Linked DNA regions of Homo sapiens: all the other regions are linked to region 1. The links are contacts of gene promoters, found by promoter capture Hi-C in blood cells and fetal thymus (Javierre and others, 2016). All regions are on one chromosome and are shown on one strand. The core of a region is centred on a gene start or on the middle of the fragment in contact, and the rest is flanking DNA. Distances in the headings are between cores, read along the strand shown. Region 1 holds the start of CCDC112 (coiled-coil domain containing 112). Region 2 overlaps LOC102467217 (a long non-coding RNA gene). Region 3 has its middle 12 kb from the start of FEM1C. Region 4 overlaps TMED7-TICAM2 (TMED7-TICAM2 readthrough). Region 5 overlaps TMED7-TICAM2 (TMED7-TICAM2 readthrough).

Region 1 (3,143 bases), core at 156-2,655:
GATGGTCTCCATCTCCTGACCTCGTGATCCGCCCACCTCGGCCTCCCAAAGTGCTGGGATTACAGGCGTAAGCCACCACGTCCGGCCTCTTCTGCAAAAACTTCCCTCCACAGACTTCCGGTTTTCCTCCCTTCTCACAGATCTCTCCATATTGGTCCCCTTCTCCTCTTGTCCGTGGTCACCTTCTCGGAGTGGCCTAGGCTTAGTTCTCAGACTTCAATTTATACTCACCCTGGGTGAGCTCATTCAGTCTTATTTCAAATATTTTCTATAGGAAGATCAAATTCGTATCTTTAGCTCTCTCTCTCCTGGGCTCCAGAGGCGTTTATCCCGCTGCCTGTTTAATACCTCTACCAGGATGGTCTCTGGAGTCAGGCTGTCTAGATAGGTATCCTACCCTCTACCTGTGTGGCCATGTGATCCTTAACTTTATCACTGAAATGGAGATGATAATAGTACCTACTTCATGAAGTTATTTGTGAAGATTAAATGCAAAAGTGCATATAAAGCACTTATAACAGCCCTGGCATAAAGGAATTGCTCAATAAATACCTATTTGTTTACTTGTTAAAGGTGAAGGAACCTTACCTATGTGTCTAATTCAACAATGAATTCCCAAGGCCTAGAACAGTGCCTGACATATGCTAGGAGCTCCATATTGACTGACTGAATGAATCGATTTCTATAAAGGGGGAAAAGGTAGTACCTACAGAAATCAGCTCAGTTGCCACAGGTTGTCTTGACTGGAAGCGTCATCTGTGGCTTTTTTCCAACTTCCCAGCACTGTATTTTTGGAATCTGTCTTCTCATTGACCAAGTCCTAGGAATGTAACTGTGGCATTCCTGCCTCTGATATCTGGTTCTGTGGAGCAAGCTGGGTTTTTTTCTTTAAAAATCTAAAATATGATTTATTGTTAGAATCCATTGATAATGTTTTTTCATTTAGACTCAGTCTCAGCAGCGCTAAGTAGAAACCTAGAAAGCGGATGTATATTAGGTAAAAATATGTATATATTGACTATAACACGAATAAAATTTAAGGACGATGTAAGACAATGAATTTTCTTGACAGGTATGGGACTGGGCTGGCACAGTCGGTTAAGTGCCCAAAGGGTATATAAACCCGCGACAGGGCAGAGCGCAGCCCCCGCCCCGCCCCGCCCCGCCCCCACACCCGCCCGCCCCAGAACCCCAGACCCGCCCCTCCCCTGCATCCCGGCTCCGCCCGGCACCTTGCCCCTCCCTCGCCCCGCCCCTCCCCGCCTGAATCCCGGCCCCCGCCTCGCATTTCGGCCCCGCCCTGCACCCCAGTCCCGCCCCTCCCGCACCCCCGCACCCCTGCACCCCCGCATCTCAGCCCCGCCCTGCATCCCGACCCCGCCCTACATCTCGGCCCCGCCCTGCATCCCGGCCAAGCCCGCAGCGCAGGGAGCTGTCTGCAGAGGCCAGGGTGCGCCTGCCACGAATCCCCAGGCACCGGTGGCCGCCGCGGCCCGAGTAGCTCGGCGGGTAAACATGGCCGCACTGACGACGGTTGTGGTAGCGGCTGCGGCCACCGCGGTAGCCGGGGCTGTGGCAGGGGCGGGCGCGGCCACCGGGACCGGCGTGGGAGCGACGCCAGCGCCTCAACAGGTAAATCCGGGAGAACCGAGAGCTGCTCTGGCGGCAGGCGAGGGGCTGCAGGCCCTGGCTGAACAGGTGCCCTCTGCAGCGCCGGCGGGAGGCGCGGCGTTCGCCTCCCCTGCTCGGGGCCTGGCACGCGCTGGGCGTTGCTCTTTGTTGGCTTGTGCGTTTAACAGCTTTTGCAGAGCCGCCTCCATGTGGTTTCGGAGTCGAGGAAGACCTGGGTGGGAACCCGGCTCTGCCGCTTCCTAGCCGCGTGATAAGAACATATGCTGTCGGCGACTCACTTTCTTCTCTAAAAATTGGGAATAGTAACATGCACCTCCCGAGCTTTGGACTAACGTTATGTCTGGGGAGCCCCTGGCACAGTGCTTGATTGGAGGGGGACTCTGTGCTCAGTAATTGGTGGCAGCTCTGTTACTGTACCGGCGCTGGGAACACAAGGAGAAAGACAATATGGGATGGTCGGAGGCAGAGGTGTTTCCAGTGATCGGCTTAGGACCGCTTTCTAGGTGGTGAGGACAAGGTATCTTTGTTCAGATGTTATCAGCTCAGCGAGACTTTCCATGATCTCCCTAAAATGAATCGCCTTACGCGGCACACCCAGTCCCTGTTTCTGGTTTTATTTTTCCCCATAGCACTTAGTACCATATATTATATTACATACTTTATTTCTATTGTTTATGTTTCTCCTCACACCCCTCACCCTCCCTCGCACCCCCATGAGAATGTAAGCTCCATGAGGGCAGAAAGTATTGGAAATTTTATTCTTTATTGTATTCCCAGCACCAAGAACTATGCCTGTTGTGTAGTGCCTGGAACGTAGTATGCACTTACTAAATAATTTGTGGATCAATATAAACCTGAAGGAAGGCTGTCATGAGCTGAGGAGAGGTTCCATCTTTTTCCTCCTTTAAGGAAATACAGTGTCTTTACTCGTAGACCTTCAGGAAATTCCACCTACGGCAAATTTTCTCACACATCCTCTATAATTCTCTTTATTATTCTAACTCTGTCCCAAGTATCTCAGGAAAAAATGTAAAATATATAAATATACATAATACGTAAAGTATTTTTAAGTACTATGCTCAAAAAAATGTGTGACACCATGTTGCTGGCTTTCTCCATCATTTCTCTAAATTCTTGTAGCAATGTTCTGTCTTCTGATCTGCATTTCTTGCGAGTTGCCTAATGTTGTTATTGATGCACACTTTTGTGATGTTTGCCTTCTCAGGGGTTGGATCAGATCACCTGTGGAGCTCTTTCAGATATTTTATCAATCCCCTAGAGGATATCTAGCAATGTTTGGAGACATTTTTGGCTGTCAGAGTGGGGAGCAGGGGGGTGTTGAGGGGCTGCTAGCATCTAATGGATACAGGCCAGAGAACAGCCACCCATAACAAAAATCATCTGGTCCAAAAGTTAGTAGTGCTGAGATTGAGAACCATGGTGTATACTGTCTTACCACTTTAGTAGGGAAAGCAGAGCCTCATTGTTGAGAATCTACCTCAGCATAGTTA
Region 2 (3,349 bases), core at 476-2,975, 360 kb before region 1:
TACTATTTTTGTTTTATATTGTATTAATTTCTACTTTCAACATATATTCTTTCTTCTATTTTGTTTGGAGTTTCTCTATGGTCCTTCTTCTAGCAATTTTTTAGTTGAATAGCTCATTAATTTTTCATCTTTCTTGTTTTGTAATATATGCAATTAAGGCTATAAATTGCCTTCTAAGTACTGCATTAGCTGTATCCCACAAGTTTTGACATGCAGTGCTTTCTATGTCATCCAGTTCTAAATATTTTATAATTCTCATTAAAATTTTATTGTGACTTAAGAAACATTGTTATGAAGGCTTATTATATATAAAGTGCATAATTAAGTGAATAACTCAGTGAATTTTACATATGTCTACACTTGTGTAGCTACTGCCCAGATCAAGATATAAAACATTTCCAGCAACCCAAAGAACTTTTCTATACCTCTTTCCCCAAAATACCCCCCAAGAGATAACCGCTATTGACTAATACCATGGATTAGTCTTACCTCTTCTTAATATCATCTAGAAGGAACCATGTGTCCCATTTTGTGACTGATTTCTTTCACTCATCATTATGTCTGTGAGATTTATTCATATTAAAGCAACAGGTTTTTTCCCCCTCTCCATTACTGACAATGAATATACTTATTTGTCCATTCTACTCTCAAGTCATATTTGTATTGCTTCCAGTGTGGGGCTATTATGAGTAAAACTAGTATGAAAGTTCTTATAAATGTCTTTTGCTGGACATTTTTACTCATTTCTGTTGGGAATATAGCTAGCAGTAGAATTTTTGAATTATAGAATAGACATATATTTAGCTTTATTAGATATTTCCAAATTGTTTTTCATAGTGGTTTTTACCAACTTACACTCCCACCAGTATATGTGTGAGAGTTGGTCATTCCACGTTCCATCATATTTGGTATTGTCAGTTTTTTTCTAAATTTTACTTATTTTGGTGTGAAGCGTAGTACCTTAATGTCATTCATGTTTCATTTACCTGCTGACTATAATTCTGAACTCCTTTTTATATGCTAATTGGTCATTTGCATATCTTCTTTTATGAAATGTTAATTCAAACCTTTTTCTGATTTCTAAATTGCATTATTGTCTTTTTATAATTGAGTTGTAAGAGTTCTTTGCATATTCTGCATATGTCTTTTAACAGATATATGTATTGTGAATTTCTTCTCTCAGTTGGTAGTTTGTCTTTTCACTCTCTAAATAATCTCTTTTTATTAACAAAAGTTTGTACTTCAATGAAATCTTTTTTTTTCTCTCATTGGCAGTGCTTTTAGTGTCCTGTTTAAGAAAGGTTTACCCTCCTCAAGGCCATGAAGATTCTCTTATGTATTTTTTAAAAGCTTCACTCTTTTACCTTTACATTTGTTTGTGATCCATTTTATACTGATTTTTTATATTGCATGACAAAAGTATCAAGATTCATTTTCTTTTCCAATTCATGTCATCTGCAAATAATGACGATTTTATTACTTCCATTCCAAACGCTATACCTTTTATTTTTTCTCTTGCCATATTGTACCCATGAATGTTTTTGTAGTGTTTTTTAAAATTTCAAAACATATGAGGGTTTCTAATCTCCTTTTAACGTTGGTTTCTAATTTTGCTGCACTCTTTTCGGAGAACAAGCTGTATAGCATCCATTCTTAGGAATTTATTAAGCCTTGTTTTGTAGCCTTGTACACTATACATTTTTGCAAATGTCACATGTTTGCTTGGTCTCCAGACCCATTCATTCTACCTGTAGAGAAAGATATAGAGAGATGTTGCTCATTTAAGGCATTTGCCGTATCTTGCAGGATAGCCCCCTAACCTTGAAGGTGCTTTCTTTTAGCTGGTGCCAAAATTGTGAGGTCAGCAGGCTATTCTGCTCTTCTGGTGATCCAGCTCCTTTTTGGAGATGGGCAAGACTAGTGAATTCCAGTGGTGTGAACGCATTGTCATACTTTCTTTGCAGTAGTATGAATCATTCCATGACTCAGGGGACAGGGTTGCATTCATTCCCCCTAAGTGTCTATATTTTAATATAATAAGCCTCATGAACTTGAGCATTTAATTAATGCTGCAACCCTTATAATCAGATCCTAAGCTTAGTTCTCAACTACCTCCTCCTGCAGTTATTGGAAATAAGATGTGCTTTTAAAGTTGCATTCAGGGCTCTCTGATTTTCCACATAAATTCTCATCTGGCAATTTCATTTCTCTTTGTCCCTACTTATTCTCCCTAGGGCCTTTAGAACAACCCAGATGACACTATAGTTCCTAAGATCTGTAGAACTCGTAGCAATCAAGTTTTACCGCTACTTGATTTCCCAAAACCTTGACCTCCTGTGTCATCACCAGTGACAGTTTGAGTAACTGTGATACTACTATATGTCAAGGATTGTCCATACCCCATTCCCCCTGTACTCTTCAAATATTGCACAATCCAGTCCAGGATTTTAAGGATTTTACTTTGTTTTCTGGGACCAGTCACAGTATCAATTACTGTGCCAATTAAGTTCCCAGTGGGAAAAAGATGGTGCAGTCAAATTGGGTAATTTGAAGGGACTATTTATAAAAGTGCAATCAGAGTAGGACAAACCATGAGAAATAGTGCAATACTCTGGGACTGTAAATAGTAGAATTTCCAAAAGGCAAAGAGAAGGAGCAATTATGGGAACCTAGTTTAGGAAGTCACATGATAGGAGATAAGATATTTGGGCAAGAGGTTCTGCTCCCAGGCCTAGGCAACCCTGGATGGAGGTAGCTAAGGGAACAAATACCTCTACCTTACTTTTTGCCCTCCCTCAGATTTTCTACCAGGAATCTTCAAACCCAAATCCAAATGCAAAGGAAATTTATACAACAAGAGAGTCTGTTGAGGTAGAATATACCCACAGGATACCCTCTCAGGACACACATAAGGATGGAAAGGAATGAAGAGTGGATCTAGAAGGGCAATCATAAAATATCAAGCAAAATATGAATTGGATCTTAATAATGTTAAAATTTGTGGTTCCTTAAAGATGTCCAAATGTAGATGCTGAGTAGTCATCAATGGCAAATAGACCATATTTAAAGCTGTGGGTGTAGAGGGCCTATAAACTGAGCCTCGTTGTGCATTAATATTGGGTTGAGGAAGATGGTCTTGCAAAGGAGACTGAGAAAAAGTAGCTGAGGAGTTGGGAAGAAAGTCAGAAAGGGTGGTATAACAAAAGACAAGGAAAAGGTGTTTCAAGACGATGAAAGTCTACAGTGCTCAACCCTCTGATAATCAAGTAGGATGAACAGTGAAAATGTTCATTACCTCTCCTCTGCCATATGTCATCCCTTACAGGACCATCCTTACACCTGAGCTAGA
Region 3 (3,303 bases), core at 598-3,097, 260 kb before region 1:
GAGAAAGGTAATTATTTGCCCAAGGACACACAATTAGGAAGTGGTGGTTGCCTCTGTAGCATTCTGCACACTTTTTTCATTGTTTACCCAGTATATTGAAATTGCCTGTTTATGTGTCTGTCATCCACACCAGACTGTGAGGTCATGAGGGGTGGGACTCTGTCTTATTCTGAACCTGCTGCAGGCAATACATGTGTGTTGAACTGAATTATCTGCTTCTAAAGCCTGTGCTCTTATCACCTGGCATGATGTGTTAACTACCTAAACTCAGTGGCCTTAAGAACATGACAGAAACATGGCAGGGACACAGTTAGGGCCTGGAGGCAAGGAAAACACAGCGTTTAACATTGAAAGGTCCAGAAATGACCTATATCCTTCTCTTCAGAAGAATTCATTCTCAAAATTCTTTGTTCATGCACATACTTCCTGACAATAAAAACAAAACAAAACAAAACAAAACAAAAAATCAGTCTCCATGAACAGTACATACAAACTGTTGTAAACCTTTCTTCCTTTAACTTCCTCTCACCGCTCCCCCACCCCCACCTCCCAGAGCGCACAGAATAACAAAAGAAATGTGACAGTTATTGCTAGGTTCCTGGCATTACTACTGCCTGGCCCTGAGAGACAGGAAAGGACCCACAGAGCTCACAGATTCACAGATAGTGAATGAGGCATGAAAACAGTGAGGAGACTGAGGACTATGAGAATAAACTAGGACCCAACTTAGTCCTTAGGGTTAGGGCAAGTATGAGGGGCATTTAAGTGGAGGCCTAGTGGTAGCGTGGCAAGGTAGGCATCGGCCAGGAAAAGAGTGTGTGTGGGGCCTGAAGCCGAGGAACCAGCAAGAGTCTGACATGCAGGCAGAAAGCAATACCAATAAGGCAGCGAGGAGTTGTCAGGGAGGAGAGAGGTACGAATCAAGGATGTGGGGCAGGTGCAGGCCAGAGCCTGGCGGGCTTTGGAAACCACATGAATATTTGTAAACTTTTCCCTAAGAGCAGGGAGAAGCTGCTGAATCTAAAGGAGCCTCATGACATATGTGCCTTTCTCTCTGAGTAGCTGGGGGAAATTTGGTTAAGGAGGCAAGAGCAGTTGTAGGAAGGCCTGTTAGGAGGCTAATGCCTCAGTCTGGAAGGGTTAATGGGACCATCTGAAAAACTCTGTCACCTGGCACCACCACTCCTACATTCACCACCAAGTTATTTCTCTGCCAAGTGAAAAACACTTTGCATTCATCACTAGTCTGGATACTCCATGATTACAGAGTTCTGTGGACTGCATGGTCTGGTTCCTACCTGCCTCTAGCTTGGGGGGTCCACATCTCCCTCTTATTCACAATACTCCACACGTGTTGGCTTTCTATTTGCTTTCACAGTGCACTGAGTTTTTTCTCACTTCAAGACATGTCCTTAGGAAACAGTGTTTACTTCTACCTGGACTCCTCCTCCTTGCTCTACTCACTTCCTAATTAACTGCTCCTCCTCTGGCTTTCACATCAAGTAACACTTTCTCAAAGCAGCCCATGTTGACCCCTTAGAATAGGTCATGGCTTCTGTTGCACACCCTTAAAAGCATATGTGTTTCTTCTTCCTAGTGCTGACCTCACTTTGTATATGTTATGTTTGTTTACTATTTGTCAGAAATCTTTTGATAGCAATGAATGAAATCCAACTCAAATTGGCCTAAACAAAAAACAAAAAGCGTTGGAAGACGGATGTGTTTGTTCATATATCCGAGAGGCTAGGACAGGGTTAGCATGTTGCCTAACTCCAGGGAGCACTGTTCAGTGATTCTGGAGGCAAGCAACACAGTGGCACTGGCCAGGGGATATTTGACCTCTGACATGGCGGGATCTAGGGGTTCAGACCATGCCATGGTTCCATCTCTCCTTCAGTTATGTTGATTTTGGCATGGACATCCTCATGGAGCCTATCATAGCGGGCAGGGTTCAGAGGATGGGATTTCCCAGATGAAGTGTTTACTCAAAGAAACTGGAAACAGCAAAACAAAAGGGGTAAGTGCAAACCATAATCAACATGAGCCATCCACAAATGATCCAGTGGAATCTGGTCACATATCAGATCTGAAGGGCAAATAAGTCTACAAATGGGCAGTGAATCTAGGGATTAGGTGTCCAGCAGTCAGGAATGGGAGAAGAAAGCAGGTTGGAAGCAAGTTAGAGGAAACTGCTCAGGATAGAAAACAAGACCAAGGTGGTGGGGCCCATTCTTGCTGGTGTTTCTCCAGTGATGGGGATGTGGTCCTGCAAGCTATAAGCTGCAGGCCAGGTCCCAAATAGATGGGAGTCCTTCAGGGAGACAACTATACACAGCAGCTCAGCCCCAGGACCTAGGGACTGAGGGGGTATGGAGAATGGCAAATTGGAGACAGTAGACCCATTACTGAGGAAATATACTGGGGAGGCAACGTAGTACCTACATTCTGGCCCAGACTGTCTAAAGTCAGACAAATTCCACCCTGCCATTTACTAGCCATGTGAATTTGTTTAAGTTACTCAACTTCTCTAACCCTTGGTTTCTCCATCTGTATAGAAGTACTTACAATGTCTGTTATAAAAATTAACGTAGCAATGCTAAACCTTTTTTGCACAGCCTCTTTCACACAGAAACACTAAATAAATGCTCACTGCTATTATTAGCAGCAAACTATAATACTAATTAGCAACAAAGGAAACTAAGAAACAATTTGGAAACCCATGGTCAGCACAAGAGCTGTCATTGCTAGCTCTGAATTGCCATGCCCCTTTCTTCTTTAGGTCTTTGCACAAGGTATTCCACATTCAGATCTCAGCTCATACATTCCTTCCTCGAGGTTGGGGGTCCTGCTGTTCTAGAGGTGCTGGCCTGATGAGTGCGCTAAAGACATTTGAACCTGTCTCCCTGTATCTAGTTTGGCCTGGAAACTAGGGGAAAGGCTGAATCTTCCTATTCAAAGTCCAGCTTGTGCCTGAACAGAGGTGGACTGAGTCTCCACATCCACTCATTCATTTTCACTATGCAAATATTCACTGAGGACAACCTGTGTGCCACACACTCTGCTGAATTATGGTGACTCAGAATTGAACATCCAAACATGGCCCCTGCCCTCCTGGGCCTTCCAGTTGTATAAAGGAAATAGATAAAGCATCACAAGGATCCTAAGAGAGGAAGTAAAGGGCACAATGGCAGCTATGGGGAGTGGAGGAAGTAGGCAGGGCAATATGTGGCATCCAGTTATAACAAGGGAGCTACAGAGGCTGGGAAATTGGCAGGGCCCACCCCCACCCTGAGTCCACGTGTA
Region 4 (3,336 bases), core at 455-2,954, 320 kb before region 1:
TTAATATCATGCACTAACTGATGAGCATGGAATTTTGAGACTGACAGTCTTTAAAATCTATCTTAATTCTTACATGTAGGCATTTCACAGAGAACTTCAGACTTTTGTAGTGAAAAATAATGTTGAAAGATTTTATGAACTTTTAATTGTAAAGAGAAAGAAGCATTAAAATAAGGAGGAAGATCACTAAGGTAGAAACATCAGTGGTAAAAGAAGGTTGGGAAGGCTGAGCAGTGTTCCAATCTTCTGAAGCATTTTCTTTAATCCCTGAAGGAATGTTGCTGTCATACTCAGGAGGCTGGTGTAACTGGAAGCAAAATGATGCCTAAATTAGTAGATAAATAATACCATATCATAGCCTTTATACCATTACTTAGTGTTACTCAAGCTGCTGTAACAGTAACTTGTGCTGTAACTTTAGGTGAAATATTGAAGATTAATGGTAAGTCATCTCACAAAAATAGTTACAAAAGCTAAATTCAGATTTATTTTGGAGACATAGAGAAAGCGTAAAAAATTTAAACCCAGTGAACAACTATTGCTTAGGTGATGAGGACTGTTTTATTTCTAGTTCAAATACAGCAAAATCCAAAATGCTTCAAAATCCAAAACTTTTTTTTAGCTCCAACCTGATGACACAAGTGGAAGATTGTTACATCTGATCTCATGACACATCATTGAAAATATCATATACAGTTGCCTTAAGGCTGCATGTATAAGGCATATATGAAACATAAATGAATTTCATGTCTAGACCTGGGTTCCATCACAAAGATATCTCATTATGTATATGTAGACATTCCAAAATCAGAAAAAATCTGAAATTCAAAGCACTTCTGGTCCCAAACATTTTGGATAAGGGATACTCAACCTGTATGGGCTTAGATCGTATCTAAAAGTTACTCAATTAGGCATGAAAAAGAATTATTTACCACTTATTCGTTAACATCTTAAACTGGTATTTTAGTGTTCCCAGGTTCTATTTAGTCTCTTGGCCAAAGTCATGGTGAAAGAAACAGCTTTAAGAATGTGTAAAAGCCTTAATTCATAAACCTGTTGTTAGAATTAGCAAGATATATTCAAATACTCTTAATTTTAGAAATGTTCTCTTTATTTTAAGGTCTTGTGTGAAGGACACCTTGCTTTGTAAAATGATATTTCTTTGGGGCCATTACCTTAACCTGTATCCATTCCTTCATGAATTTTAACTTGTATAAGGTGGCTTGTTCTAAAAACCTAAGTGGGTAAATATAAGAAATGAATGGTAATAAAGCAGTTAGTATCATACCCGTCTTTATCCATGCTACATTTTTTATTTTTCTCAGTCTTATTTTTCTACTTTCAAAAAGATAATGTATCATATAATAGGGATCATTATAAAGCAACTTTTCATACTTTAAAATTGAAAATTACCAGCTAGTAAGTTCAGAACAAAATTACCAGCTAGTAAGTTCAGAACAAAATTACCAGCTAGTAATGCAGAATAAATGATAAAAGTTTTACTCTCACCATTTTTTACCTGTTGATAAAATGATGGATTTAGAGTAGGCAATGATCAGCAGTCACTACTAAAACCATTAAGTAAAAGGCTGATGGGGAACTTTATACTGAGTGGATCAGACTGAATGATCATTCACAAATGGAGAGATAACTAGACATTATGTGCCTTATCATAATATGCAGTAAGAAGTACACAACATTGACTACTAGACGTTCCCACCCAGAACATTGCACCTGAATTCCATCAAGTCTCTAGCTCCAAATGCCAGTTTACAAGAAATACAGAGGATAAAGGAATAACATGGGAATGCAATCAACAAAATCCAGGACGTGGGAAATGCCACAGGATAGGGGTTGATGGCAAGGAAAAAAGGAAAAACAAGGAAGAAAGCCTAAAGATTAATGAACACTTACATCAGCCAAATGATTGTGTTAACCTTACTTGGATTCTTACTTGAAAACCAACTTTGAAACAATAGGGGAAATTTGAACACTATTTCCTGACTTTAAGGAACTGTTTTAGATTATTTCATGTGTTATAATACTATTGGGGTTATGTTTTTAAAAAGTGTTATCTTTTAGAAATAAAGTATAAAAGTATTTGTAGCTGAAGTGATAAAATATCTGAGATTTGCTTTAAAAATAATCGGGGAATGTAGATGAAGCAAGATTAGCCATGTGTTAATCTTTGTTGACATGGTGGGGGTTCATTGTACTTTTCTCAATACTTTTGAATATATATGGAAGTTTTCACTGTAAAAGTTTTTTAAAAATCACATCTCAGGCCAGGCGTGGTGGCTTACGCCTGTAATCCCAGCACTTTGGGAGGCCGAGGCGGGCGGATCATGAGGTCAGTAGTTAGAGACCAGCCTGACCAACATGGTAAAACCCTGTTTCTACTAAAAATACAAAAATTAGCTGGATGTGGTGGAGTGCACCTGTAATCCCAGCTACTCAGGAGGCTGAGGCAGGAGAATCACTTGAACCTAGGAGGTGGAAGTTGCAGTGAGCCAAGATTGCGCCATTGCACTCCAGCCTGGGTGACAGAGCGAGACTCCATCTCAAAAAAAGTCACATCTCAAAAGTTGTAGAATGCATGTAATTTAATTTCTGTGATTTTCTCTAATCCAGTAGTTCTTAACCCATACCCCATGGACAGGCTTGAAGGAGTTCCTAAATATTCTGCATTTGGGTCAACTCCTTGCCTTTATGTGTACTTTCCAGGTGAAGAATCCTTGGGCAATATGCCATTTTGAGAATATAGAGAAAGCAAATCCTAGAAGCACATCTCTCTCTAGCTCCTCATCACAAATTAGGAATCATTTTAGCACAGTTTTGCAAATTTTTCATTCCTAGGGGCCTGAACAAAGCAAGGACAACAAAAATATTTGACTCTTCTAATAGGTTAATGCAGTTTGTTGGCCTCATAATTTCTTACATTTTTTAAAAGCACTTTTAATAGAATATTTTAATAATTATTCCTTTCATACTTACTTTGGCAGAACTTCATTAAACATTATTTTCTAATTTCTATATTCCTTAACTAAAATTAAAACAAACTTAGATTTGTTTTTAAAACTCTTAATACAGGCTTGTTGCATAAAATAATAATAAAACATATATTTTACCACTAGGATTAAGTTTGCAGCAGTAGAAAAATATTAAACCATGGTATACAAAAAAACTAGTCATTTAACCTTTCTCAAAACAGATGGTATAATAAATGTATAAAAAGGCAAGCTGTTATCAGCTAAAGGCTCACAAATTGATTACACAGTGAAACTGAAACTTGCATCCTGTTGGGAACATACATATTGGTTTAGTTGACTGGCATGA
Region 5 (3,139 bases), core at 349-2,848, 300 kb before region 1:
GCACAGTTCTCATCTTTCCTGACCCCTCAGTAACATTTGATCACTCCCTCCTCAATATTCTTTTTTCTTCACTAATGTTCTTCACTAATATTCTTTCTTCTTCACTTGGCTTCCAGGTCACCATATTCTGCATTTCATTCTGCTTCATTGTGTCTCCAGGCTTCCCCACCACTAAATCTTAGTATGCCACAGAGTTCATTTCTTGGCCATATTTTTCTAGCCATACTTTCCCCCAGGACAATTTGTATCCCAAGCCATATTCCTTGGCTATAAATAATATCTATCAGCTGATGACTTCCAAAATTTTATTCCTAGCTTTAGTTCGCTTCTGAGCTCCAGATGTATGTGTATGTCCAGCTGTTTACTCAGCATCTCCACTTGGAAGTCTGATAGGCATTTAAATTTAGTATGGACAGATAGAACTACTGATGCCAGATTCACCAAGTTCTCCCTCTGTTTCCCCTCAGCTCCCTCCCTTATCTCAATAAACAGCCTCAGTTACTGCCATTCAAGTAGGCCGGAATTCTAGGAATTTACTCTTGACTTCTCTTTTTAGGTCAGACTCCGCATCCAAGCATCCAACAAAATCTGTTGACTCTACCCAGATCTGCCCACCTCTCTCTCCCTCTCTAAGCTAAGCCACAGTCCTCTCCTACCTACATGATTGAGAAGTCTCTGCCTCTGCCCTTGCTCCTCTACAGTCTTTTCCAAATAGCAGTGATTTTTGTCATACATACTCAGAACTTTCATTTCCCTTCAAAACCTTCTGGTGGCTTCTTATCAGAATCACAAAAAAAAAGAAAGAAAAAAAAAAGAAAAGAAAAACAGGCTTACAATGGCTTTAAAGCCCTGTGTGATCTAGTCCCTGACTAGTTCTCTGAACTCATCTCCTGACTTCCCTCTCATCCACTCCACTGTAGTAACACTGATTGTGCTGCTGTTGCCTTTGCCTGCAGCTGGTGTCTGCTAGACCATTGCACACTGTACTCCCTCACTTCTCTGTTAGCATGCTGCCTCAGGGGTTACTGTGCTATTGCAGCAAGATCTCTTTTGCTGCTGGGCCTGTGCGGTAGGTTGCTATTAAATACTGAATGCTACTCTCTAGTATTCCATGAAGCTTATGGAACCTTTAAAACATTGTTGGTTGCTTGAGTTCCCTAATATTAAAAATGCACAACCATTTTTCTTTTGAGCCTAATTTTGATAAGATGGACAGTTTGCCTTTAAGTTCTATGTTTTTATAAAATCTCTTCCTGATTTGGAGATTTGCCCTTTACCATCAGTTTTCATTTTTAGATACAGAAAATGGAAGAAAAATATCCAGTTCACTAAAAAGAATATGTAATAATATTTGGTGGGGGGCAGTTACTTTGCCCCCCTCCCCCCACCAATAGGGGCAATAGGAAATAGGAAGCAATAATCTAACATTTGGAGACTCTTTGAATGGTACCAGCAGCAGGTAGTTTATGGGAAGAAGAAAAATAAAGACACTTGTTCAGAGAATAATATACAAGTTTCTAAGTTCTGCAGTGACTAAGCCAATGTCAGAGTTGTGAAGATTTTATAAGATATTATATAAATTGAACTTTTTTTTTTTTTTTTTTGAGACAAGGTCTTGCTATGTTGCCCAGGCTGGTCTTAAACTCACAGGCTCAAGCAATTTTCCCACCTCAACCTCCCAAATAGCTGGGCCTAGAGGCACATACCACTGCATCTGGCTCCAGTTCTCTTTTGAGGACTATGTAGAAATGAAAAACAATATTTTCATCTTTATGAAGAGGTGTAGCAACTAAAAGATTGTTTAATTTATAATCCTTATTTCTCATTTTAATCTCAAGGAACTGGTTCTGTTATCAGTAGCGTATGTACTATCACCCCTTCTTGTAAAAGAAAAGAAGAAAATTCCTTCTTATTTCAGAATTAGGATTTAAGATACTTTAATAAATATTTCCAATATAAGATTAAATTAAATTAAATAATAAGTAGATTTGGAATATCGAACAGAGAGAAGAGTAGGGGGGTTAAGCAGAAACTAGGAGTGAAGTTATTAATAGTATCAAAACACTTGCCATAAGCTTCTGTCTGTTGGCCAGAGCACTCATTAACGTGGAGCTTCCTAGCAACTGAGTGAAGAGATAGGGTCCACAAGATGAAAAAGCAGTGCCCAGGTGAAGATCGGATAGAAGCATTTTTTTAAACATTTACTTGCTCAAGGACCTGTTTTAGGTACGATGAAGATGAATGTTCTGTCCTTTGGTACTTAAGAAGAGTGTTGGAGAAGCCCTGTTTGGTTTAGAGTTAGCAAACCCATGCTCTTGGAATATTTGCATATAAATAAAAAACAGATGAAATAGAGCTAAACCTGGAGATAGGCTAAACTCATTTGGAACGTAGAGATAGAGCATGTAAGGAAGACACTTACCAAAGGTGTTGGAAAAGATATATATAAGGAAGATACTATTTAGATGGAAATCAAATCAACATAATTGACATAATTGTTGACAATTATTGACCTAATTGATATTTATAAAAATATAAAGCCTAGAAAATGAATTTTTATTTACTAAAAAACTATTTTTTCAGACTGTGTGATCATTGTTCAAAAGGTGAACATGTATGTGTATATATGTGTACATGTGAAGAACACGTGAGTTCTTCACATATATATGAAGGAATACATATATATACACATTTATATATTCTTATGCATATACCATTCACAGAGGATCAATGTTACCTTTTTGGTATTCACTTGGCCCATGAACAACATGGGTTTGTATTATGTGGGTCCCCTCATATGTGGATTTTCTCCAACAAAACATGGATCAAAAATGCGGTATTCCAGGATGCAAAACCCACACATACGGAGGGCTGACTTTTTGTATACGCAGGCTCTGCAGGCTGACTGTGGGACTTGAGTATTCTTGGATTTTGGTATATGCAGGGGTCCTGGAACCCCTGGAATCAGTCTTCCCTACCCTTAAGTATACCAAGAGACGACAGTACTTCTTTCTAATCTATTTTCTCTGCATTTTGTTTAACAAAGCTGAGATCATATTCTGTATACTATTTTACAGTCAGTTCCTTTTCTTTAATTACATTTCATTTTCGTGTCATGAGAAGCGTTTTTCTCATGTCA

Evidence for each region. The method cuts DNA at HindIII sites, captures the fragments that hold promoters and counts their contacts. A CHiCAGO score of 5 or more calls a contact.
Region 2: a contact is called between a fragment that was not itself captured here and the fragment with the promoter of CCDC112 in region 1, in 2 of 17 cell types (neutrophils and fetal thymus). The highest score is 6.8, in neutrophils.
Region 3: a fragment that was not itself captured here is called in contact with the fragment with the promoter of CCDC112 in region 1 in 17 of 17 cell types (total CD4 T cells, M2 macrophages, naive CD8 T cells and 14 more); the score reaches 12.2 in total CD4 T cells.
Region 4: a fragment that was not itself captured here is called in contact with the fragment with the promoter of CCDC112 in region 1 in 12 of 17 cell types (monocytes, activated CD4 T cells, naive CD4 T cells and 9 more); the score reaches 10.9 in monocytes.
Region 5: a fragment that was not itself captured here is called in contact with the fragment with the promoter of CCDC112 in region 1 in 17 of 17 cell types (M0 macrophages, M1 macrophages, M2 macrophages and 14 more); the score reaches 23.0 in M0 macrophages.

Annotation. Positions count from the first base shown.
Region 1 is chr5:115,294,916-115,298,058 of GRCh38, reverse strand. It overlaps CCDC112 (coiled-coil domain containing 112), which reads left to right and starts at 1,405. Exons shown (of 10, transcript NM_001040440.3): 1 at 1,405-1,632. The coding sequence starts at 1,516. It overlaps LOC105379129 (a long non-coding RNA gene), which reads right to left and starts at 1,131. Exons shown (of 5, transcript XR_948684.3): 1 at 711-1,131. RefSeq lists a silencer at 1,307-1,756. The HindIII fragment of the contact is 8,729 bases long and covers 1-3,143 here.
Region 2 is chr5:115,656,635-115,659,983 of GRCh38, reverse strand. The region is part of intron 3 of LOC102467217 (a long non-coding RNA gene); the gene reads left to right. Among named protein-coding and RNA genes, the nearest start is that of TMED7-TICAM2, 32 kb to the right of the region's middle. The HindIII fragment of the contact is 746 bases long and covers 1,353-2,098 here.
Region 3 is chr5:115,555,113-115,558,415 of GRCh38, reverse strand. No RefSeq gene overlaps it. Among named protein-coding and RNA genes, the nearest start is that of FEM1C, 12 kb to the right of the region's middle. The HindIII fragment of the contact is 6,980 bases long and covers 1-3,303 here.
Region 4 is chr5:115,617,039-115,620,374 of GRCh38, reverse strand. All of the region lies in intron 2 of TMED7-TICAM2 (TMED7-TICAM2 readthrough), which reads left to right. The region is part of intron 2 of TMED7 (transmembrane p24 trafficking protein 7); the gene reads left to right. TICAM2-AS1 (TICAM2 antisense RNA 1) reads right to left here. Exons shown (of 3, transcript NR_109875.1): 3 at 1-307. Among named protein-coding and RNA genes, the nearest start is that of TMED7, 7.3 kb to the left of the region's middle. The HindIII fragment of the contact is 4,837 bases long and covers 1-3,336 here.
Region 5 is chr5:115,597,528-115,600,666 of GRCh38, reverse strand. The region is part of intron 3 of TMED7-TICAM2 (TMED7-TICAM2 readthrough); the gene reads left to right. The region is part of intron 1 of TICAM2 (TIR domain containing adaptor molecule 2); the gene reads left to right. Among named protein-coding and RNA genes, the nearest start is that of TICAM2-AS1, 3.1 kb to the left of the region's middle. The HindIII fragment of the contact is 958 bases long and covers 1,120-2,077 here.